Regions from separate parts of the Homo sapiens genome. Here region 1 is linked to region 2. Evidence: promoter capture Hi-C in 16 types of primary human blood cells and fetal thymus (Javierre and others, 2016). All regions are on one chromosome and are shown on one strand. Each heading gives the region's core, a stretch centred on a gene start or on the middle of the fragment in contact. The rest is flanking DNA. Distances are from core to core; before and after follow the strand shown. Region 1 overlaps LAMTOR3 (late endosomal/lysosomal adaptor, MAPK and MTOR activator 3). Region 2 holds the start of CISD2 (CDGSH iron sulfur domain 2).

Evidence for each region. The method cuts DNA at HindIII sites, captures the fragments that hold promoters and counts their contacts. A CHiCAGO score of 5 or more calls a contact.
Region 1: a contact is called between a fragment that was not itself captured here and the fragment with the promoter of CISD2 in region 2, in 1 of 17 cell types (total B cells). The highest score is 5.0, in total B cells.

What each region holds. Positions count from the first base shown.
Region 1 is chr4:99,887,987-99,892,473 of GRCh38, forward strand. LAMTOR3 (late endosomal/lysosomal adaptor, MAPK and MTOR activator 3) reads right to left here. Exons shown (of 7, transcript NM_021970.4): 3 at 4,014-4,048. Among named protein-coding and RNA genes, the nearest start is that of LAMTOR3, 4.2 kb to the right of the region's middle. The HindIII fragment of the contact is 538 bases long and covers 2,161-2,698 here.
Region 2 is chr4:102,867,615-102,872,099 of GRCh38, forward strand. CISD2 (CDGSH iron sulfur domain 2) reads left to right here and starts at 1,378. Exons shown (of 3, transcript NM_001008388.5): 1 at 1,378-1,573. The coding sequence starts at 1,471. It also overlaps a transcript of UBE2D3 not described here. RefSeq lists an enhancer at 829-968 and silencers at 1,199-1,488, 1,519-1,638. The HindIII fragment of the contact is 11,662 bases long and covers 220-4,485 here.

The DNA of each region.
Region 1 (4,487 bases), core at 1,180-3,679, 3.0 Mb before region 2:
TGGCACTAAGTGAAAAGACGTGGAAAAACTGTTCCTGGCTGAAGAAACAGGGCAAAAGGAATGCAGGCTATGCAGTAATCCTTTCAGCCATGCTTACGTAAGAAGTAGTAAGCAGAACGGTCAAGCTATAGCTCTAAAGTTAGAAAGATCTGGGTTCCAGTCCAGGCTCTGCCACTTATTATTTATGCTATCTTGGGCTAGTTATGAAACCTTTACAAGCCTCAGATTAACAATTTGAAAATGGGAATAACTGTACTTACTTAGATACTGTGAAATTTAATAATACAAGGCATGTAAAGTGTAGGCTGGCACATAATTCAAAAATATCACTTATTAACTAATACCAGTGGTGTCAATTGTGCACACTGACAATGACATAATTTATCACTAAAGTACTAAGTTATCAGTGAGAATCCCTGGGAAATTAGCAATTAAGAAACATATGGTAGAGCACAAATATACTGTGTTAAAAAATATAAGGTGACACTCCTCGACTTTCAACATTTATGCAAAACCCTTTCATTGTTAACATAAATCTTATAGTCCTGTAACTATCTTATGGTATCTATAAACTACAACTCAGAGATATGTTCAATGTCCCTACAGCAACCCGGAATGATCTATTCTTTGTGTTAACTTTAATGTATTAACTAAGGAATAAGAAATACTTATATTAACCTAATGTTTAAATACTGACATTAAATTTTTTAAAATCCCATTGTCAAAAACTTTTAAGTCAGAAAAGTGTTATTAAATATGAATGGAAAATGTTACAAACAAAATCATTTGTCTTCCTTACATTAAAAATAAGAATAAAATAACTTTATAAATGACTTTTATACTATTTTTATCCTATTATTGGCATGATTTCCTAATCATTCAATCCTAAACTTATTTATAGATTAAAATATATCTCTAAGATTAATACATAACATAGGCCGGGCACAGTGGCTGACGCCTGTAATCCCAGCAATTTGGGAGGCCAAGGTGGGCAGATCACCTGAGGTCAGGAGTTTGAGACCAGCCTGGCCAACATGATGAAACCCCGTCTCAGCCAAAAACACAAAAATTAGCTGGGTGTGGTGGTGCTTGTCTGTAATCCCAGCTACTTGGGAGACTGAGGCATAAGAATCGATTGAACCTGGGTTGCAGTGAGCCAAGATTGCGCCACTGCACTCCCAGCCTGGGTGACAGAACGAGAGTCTGTCTCAACAACAACAACAAAAAGATTAATACATAAAATAAATATATTCTTCTAAGTTAAAAACTAGGTTATATAAAACATATACTACAGATATTTGTACATAAGCCAATTATTTTGTGCAGTTACCAAAAGCAACATCATTTGAAACAGTAAAGCATTACAAATCCAACTGTCCATCAAGAAGGACAAGGTAAGTTATGATATACACCTACAAAGGAATACTCTGGAATACTCTGCAGCCATGAGAAAGAGGAAGTTCTCTATGTACCAGGAAAGATTACTCTCAAAGTTACATTCTTAAGTGAAAAAATACACAGTTTAGAACAGTGTATAGAAGAAGCAATAAATTATGTACCAAAATATGCAGGCATATGTGTATGTTGTGTGTATAAATACGTGTATATACATGTCTGCTCATAGGTACATAAAATATCTCTGTAGGTAATGGTGGGTGCCTCTTTGAGGGGAAACTGTGCATGTGGCTGGAGAGGAAGGATGGGCAGCTTCTCACTCTATGTTCTTCAGTTAAGTCTTGAATCTGAACTCTGTGAATGTACTACTTACCCCCAAAATAAATTAAAAAGCAGGTAAAAAGAGGACCACAAAAATGTTTAGAAAAATTAGTGCCACCACAGGTAGCTTCTTTTTTTAAATTTCCATGGAAATTACTTTAAATACAACTAATGCTCCAAAGAAAATAAAAGGACTTTCTTTTTGATGGACTTCACAGAGAAATGAATCAAGAAAGTAGAAAAATTACTTACACTCTTAAGTATATAATTTTAGAAATCAGGTCACAAATATAAAAGCTGTTTTCAATTCTACATACAATGCGCAAAGAGTAATATAAATAGAATTTACTAATAATTAAAAATAACTGGCTCATTAAGAGATACTACACTTTTAGAAGAAATGAATTAAATTTTGTGAAATATTCTGAAGAAATCTAAACCTTAAGCTTACTAAAACAACCATTTTTTTCTAAAAACAAATGTTGCATTACTAATCAAAGACATCGGATTTAGTTTTATACACATAATTATGAAATATTTGGTTGTTTTAAAACATACAAAGTGGGATTATTAAAGCCTGAGACTGCTTTGGGTCACAACCAGATTTTAAATTGCAAATACAAGAACGATATTTTGCAGAGAATTCAAAAAACGCACAAAAACACACATTCCATTAGTATCCGTAGCTGGCTGACTTTGTTACTGAGAGGCACTGAGGTACAACAGTTAAAAGCATGAATCCATGGCTCTGAAGCAGGATGCCTGCATCCAAACCCATACATCTAGCAACAAATCAAAGCGTATATTCTACTATTCTTCATAAATGTTCAAAACATTATTATTTCTTCATTATTACTGTTCTGGGATGCAATAAGCCTATTTTCAATAAATGATATAATGAGTTGAACTGGCTTTTTTTCATTATTAAAAAAAAAACTGACAGTACTAATACCTTTCCTGCCATTATGAAAGATTTTCATAAAGCTTTTAACAAATATCCTTTAACTGAATTTATTTCTTGGATAAGCACAACAACCTGATATTTCCCCTTTTGTTAAAAGATAAGAGACATCTAAATTCAAAGAAGAAGCAAGCATTTACTTTCCAACTATTTTTGATCAACATTAGAACTACTCAGTAATATAATAAATACTTTTGGTATTATTCTCTAATTCCTTTACACAGACAGCTTCATCATATCCAGTGTCACACGCTATTATGATTTTGAGAGCACACTTAATAGTTAAAATGAGATCCCCATTGTCTGAAACATTTTTATTGCTTATAATCACAGATGATGTAATTAGAATCAATTATTGCTTTATTAGATCTCCAGGTGACTAATGAGTATCTTTCTGGTCGGTTTATAACTTAAGAACATTGAATGCAATTTTGCTGTTTCTTCAATAAGAGATGCTAACACTCAAAAGAGGACTGTAAATCACTAAGACTTCTAAGTGAATTAACTATGTACTATTAACTATTTCATCATATCACCAGCGTAGTGGGGTATCTCTCCGTCCCAATTTGAGCGCCCTTTCATTACGCTAAGGTAACTACAGAAAAACACAGAAAGCCCTCATTTTGCATAGTTCCAATATGCACATTTTAGTTACTATGGTTAAGTAATACCACTCCCTGCAGAAGAGCACAGGTCAAATTTTAGTTAGCATGGCATAATACCTCAATAACTACGTAAAGTATAAACTTTTCTAACTCTTTAGTCCACAAATCACTACATAAATAATTATGTAATTAACAGATGCACACTGTCATCAGTAACCAGCCACATCATTTCTTTCAAAGTATGTTGATGGTTGGTCACTGTGCATCTGTTATGCAGCTCATGCAGAGATAGCAAAGCATGTAGTTTTGTACCTCCTTGTCTCCCAATGATAAAGTATGTGACATTTAGAAAAAGAGATAATAAAAAGAGGAAACTGGCCAACAAAGACGAAATACAGCAAAGAAATGAAAAGTAATAATGCTGAAATTTCAAATAGAAATGCTGAATTTCAAATAGAAAGTAAAGAATTATAGAAGAAACAGATGACCAAGGGAATGCTGACACTATCGCTCTAGATACACAGAGAACTCAGTGAAGGCAAACTTATTGACATAAATGAGGAAAGCGGTTGTGACGAAAATTTTCCAGAGGACGTGAGGCTGGCAAAAAATATTCATATTAAAGGAAATCTCAGAGATACTTCACAACATGGAAAATACAGACAAAATGCTTCATAAAATTAACATATGGCATATAGAATTTATTCAATAACAAATTAAAAATTTCTTACCTTGGTAACTTTTTATACAAGAATCGCTTTAGGTCCTGAAAGAGAGCATTAAAAAATAATGTTGTAATAATAGGCCTTCCACTGTTTTCTAGATCCTGTCCTATCCAAATTTTAAGGAACTTCAGTTATCATTCATAACCTTTCTTGCTGTGTTTTATCTTTCTCTGTCTGATTTGGATGTTTACTAGTCACGCAACTTGGAGTAAGTTAACCAACCTTTTTTCGCTAAGCTTATTTCATTATTTGTTGAATAGGGCTAATATAGAACCTACATCATAAAAGTGTTGTTAAAAGTTTATTGAGAAGATGCATGGATTAGCATACCTAGAAATGGGAAACACATTTTAGCCATAAAATTACATCATAATTTTCATACTAGTGTTTTACATCCTGTTGCTATTGTGTTCACTTGAGAAGACGTTATAAACACCTTTCCATGTTCAAAGATAGACTTTCCACCATCATCTTAATGGT
Region 2 (4,485 bases), core at 128-2,627:
GGACTCCATCTACATACACACAAAAATTTTTAAAATTCGTTGGGTGTGGCAGCACACGCCTGTAAACCCAGCTACTTGGAAGGCTGAGGCAGAAGGATCCCTTAAGCCGGAGTTAGAGTCTGCGGTGAGCTATGATCTGACCACTGCACTACAGCCTGGGCGATAGAGCGAAACCTTGTAACAACAACAACAACAACAAAATTAAAACCTTCAAGATCAAGCTTGCCCAACAGGATGGCTTTGAATGCCACTCAATGCAAATCTGTAAACTTTCTTAAAACTTTATGAAAAAAAATTTTTTTTTAGCTCATTAGCTACCATTAGTGTTAGTGTATTTATGTGTGGCCCAAGACAATTCTTCTTCCAGTGTGGCCTAGGGAAGCCATAAGGACCCCCTGCGCTAGACTTCAGCAGAAGCCTTGTAACATAAAGAAAACCATACATAAGGCTTTAGATTCTTTTTTTTTTTTTTTTTTGTGACGGAGTCTTGCTCTGTCTCCCAGGCTAGAGTGCAGTGGCACATTCTCGGCTCACTGCAACCTCCGCCTCCCTGGTTCAAGCGATTCTCCTGCCTCAGTCTCCCGAGTAGCTGGGACAGGCACCTGCCACCGCGCCCGGCTAATTTTTCTATTTTTAGTAGAGACGGGGTTTCACCATCTTGACCTGGCTGGCCTCGAACTCCTGACCTCGTGATCCACCCGCCTCGGCCTCCCTAAGTGCTGGGATTACAGACGTGAGCCACCGCGCCCGGCCAGCTTTGGATTCTTTTACCACTTTCCCGAAGGAAAAGGAACTGAAAATATCTAAGGAAGGACTACTACGAATCTTCTCTGAGTGGCAAAAACCAGAGGTTTTTGGAGCTAGGGCTGCAGTTAAGTTGCCAAGGGGCAGAGATGTAAACAGTTCCTGGTTTAGTTAAAATATTTTAATTTTTATTTTTTTAAGCCTGGCCTTTGGGTGAAGGAGTAAAATTAGGCACTGGGGTCTGGGTAGGGGGAGGATACTCATGGGCGAGTATGCAACCCTAGGGCCACAGCACCCAAACTGTAGGGGAAGAGGCGGGGCGAGAGGGGACGAAGTAGAGACAGCAAGAGACTCACTTTTGAAAGGCACTTTCGGTTAGAAAGCATTCTCACATGCTTATCTCATCGCACACAGTATCCTTTCTGCTGGTCTCCAGCATCTACAGACGTTAAAGGCCCAAGAGGAGGGCCACCTTCACACGAGATTCCGAGGAGGGCCTCGCTACCCGCCAGTTCCCGCGCCTCGGCAGTCCGCCGCGAGCGTACGTCACTCGCCCGCCGCCAATCGGCGCCCGGCAGGTCACCTCTCCTCCCAGGGCCCGCCGCCCCGCCCGCCGCCCAGGCCGAGGCCGCCAGTGCCCGCCGGCCGCTTCCGCTCCCGGCGCAGGCGCGGCAGCTTGGCCAGAGCGGAGGGGGCTCGGGAGAGGAGTGGACGCCGCTGGCCAGGATGGTGCTGGAGAGCGTGGCCCGTATCGTGAAGGTGCAGCTCCCTGCATATCTGAAGCGGCTCCCAGTCCCTGAAAGCATTACCGGGTTCGCTAGGCTCACAGGTAATCCTCCCCCATCAGCCAGTCCCCATCCTTGCACGTTCGCCAAGCGGGGGAAGGAGGCGTAAAAATCCTAGGGCCAAGGGGCGGGACGGAGCTCGGCGCCTGGCACGTGATCCCCGCGCGCAGAGGAAGGTGGGCGCGCGCCGACGCAGCTGCCTGGGGAACGCCTGTGAGGCAGTCTCCGGGTGCTTGATGCCCCAGGGTCTTTTGTCCTCGGAGTTGTCTCCGGTGTCATTCCGTGGCAAGATACCAGGTTTTTGCAGAGAAGGTGCTGAGTTGGGAACAGGCCAGTCTCTTTCATCTCCTGTCCTGCTCATCGCTCTCTGTAGCGTACTTGTTTATTTTAAAGCGGGCTAAGTCGTCGTTATCTAAGGCCTCATGTAACAGGCAGCCCCAGCTACCGGCTGGGTTGTACCCTCAGCATGTGGGTGGGAGTGTGTGGGAGAGAAATATAGACTTACACGTAACACGTATATGACCGTTTTATTTAGTAACGAAATTAGGAGATAACCTCCATTCCCTCAGGTTAGAATTGACCTATCATAGGTGGCATTTGAGGTCATCTCCGTTTCTACGGTCCCGGGGCCCGCTGCGGTAACTTAAGTTGGAAGAAAGATACCTTACCCAAGAAAGTATTCGAAGGCCGGTATGAGGAGTGAAATCTTAGAAAATGAAATTTAGTGAATATATGTAACGTTCTATACTTAAGGACCCTCACTTAACCCACACAACTCATGAGGATTTCACATCTAAAGGATGAAAATCTCCAGAATGCAGTCAACACTTGGGAGATTGTGTTGAGTTATGAGCATTTCATTGTAAGGGGGATATTTCTAAACGGAACTCAGACCGAGTAGGATGGTGAAGGAATCAGCAAGTATTGAACTCCTATGTCCTAGGTTATCAGGGAGTGCAAACATGAATTAAGATAATTCTGAGGTAAATAGGGTTGCTTCGCCGGGAACGTTCTAAAGATCTGTAGTACCTGACCTAAAATACAGCAATCGCACAGCTGTCTGGTAGAAGAAAAATAAGATTTGTGTAGACTAAAATATAGAACTGATAACAAATTAACCAAATTAGTGAAGGTTATTGGGAGGTGAATTTCAGTCTAAGGAAGATTTTTTTTTAAATTAAAGAATGCTTTCCCCAAACAAATGTGGTGCTTCAGTGATAGCCCCTCTCAAAGATGAAAAAAACAAACAAAAAGACTCTGGTGGTGGGTGGTCGATAGATTTAGAAGGGATAAACTAGATGACAAATTCTCTTCCAAATCTAGAGATTCATTGAATTATGGTCAGACAGACGCTCTGTTGAGTGGATTGTGAGATTTTAATATTTTTTAAATATTAAGAGTTTTAGTAGAAAACATGCAATTGAATAGAAAGCATGGTAACAATAATAAACATTAAAAAGGAACATTAAACATCAGAAGCAATGCAAAAGTAAAATAAAATGAAAAACGTTTCACATCAAGTGTTTATAAACATCAGATCTTTTGATCCTACCAGTTTACTCTGACAGAATTGCAGCAATTCCATAAAATTTTGGCTTTCCCCACTTCTTTTACTTAAGTACTTTACATATTTTAATATAATCCTCATTTTTTCCCTAACAACTAAATACTTATTTTAGTTTTAACATCACAATGGGCCTAACCATTCATTCCCTTACAACTGGAAATTAGAAATGTTTCTATTTTTTAAAATTCATTATGTAATAGTTCATTGGCAAGTAAGCAAATACCAGTTGTCATATTTCTCCCTTTTGGATGTCTTCACTTAAATAGCAATACCAGGCCAAAACGGTATGATCATATTGTGACTTTTGTACCCTTTTGTCATTTTGACATTTGTACCTTCTTACTAATTTGCATAAGTTAACTGTTGAGGAATTTTTAACAGTCAAGAAAGGAAAATGTCCAATGAATTACCTATGTTTTTTCCAGATGGTGGCTGCATTTGTATTAGTTTCGATTCTCTGTAAATCAAGTATAATTGAAGAAAATTAGAAAGTATGAAACTAGATTTAATGGCTAGATTTTAGAAGTATGCTTTCTTTTCTTGAGGATCCCTAGTGTCAACAAATATTTAATTCCTATTAAAGACATTAAGAAAACTCAACCAAAACCTTTTCTCTCTTAAGAATATATAGTAACTTCCTCTTAAAAGTTGTTAAATATTTAATATGAAGACTGATTCTCAGAAATAATGACCATTCTGAGAAGTATTTTAATAACATACATTTAACTTAAGTCCCATTACAGTGTGGCTATAGTTAATAGTTCTCATTTTATTGCTGGTTTATTTAGGAAACATGAACATGCTTGTAATAACTGGTTTATGAAAAACATGAGATAGCCCTTTTTGGATTGGACAAAACAATTGCAGGGTTTATTTTGGAGTACTATAGAAGAAAAATTTCAGTGGCTATTTTCCACTCTCGGTCTCCCATTCTGAATAGATTGTAACAGTTAATGACATTTGGCTTTCTTAAATGAGTTACTTGTAGAATCCATAATGTACACTTTTGTTAAAATAAAAACCTGGAAGACAACTTTTTAGCAATTGTTTAAAATGTCTAGGAGACCAAAAAATATTTCCATTTTCTTCTATGAAAATTAGAGCAAAAAACAATACAGTTCACATTATTATTGCCTACATTTCCTTCCCTATTTAAATCTAGCTGTTTTTTAAAGCTATTGACTCTCTTATGATGACTCTGCATTCTTAGAAACCACATGGAGATCTTTAATGACCATATACTAGTTAAATACAGGCAGTTCTCACCTATCAGAAACAACTTAACTATCTTTGTTTATGTCACATTTTCAAGAGTGAGGCGTTCAAGATAAATTACTGTGATTATCTAATTTATGTTTAACTTAGGTTTTTGTTTTGTTTTGTTTTTTG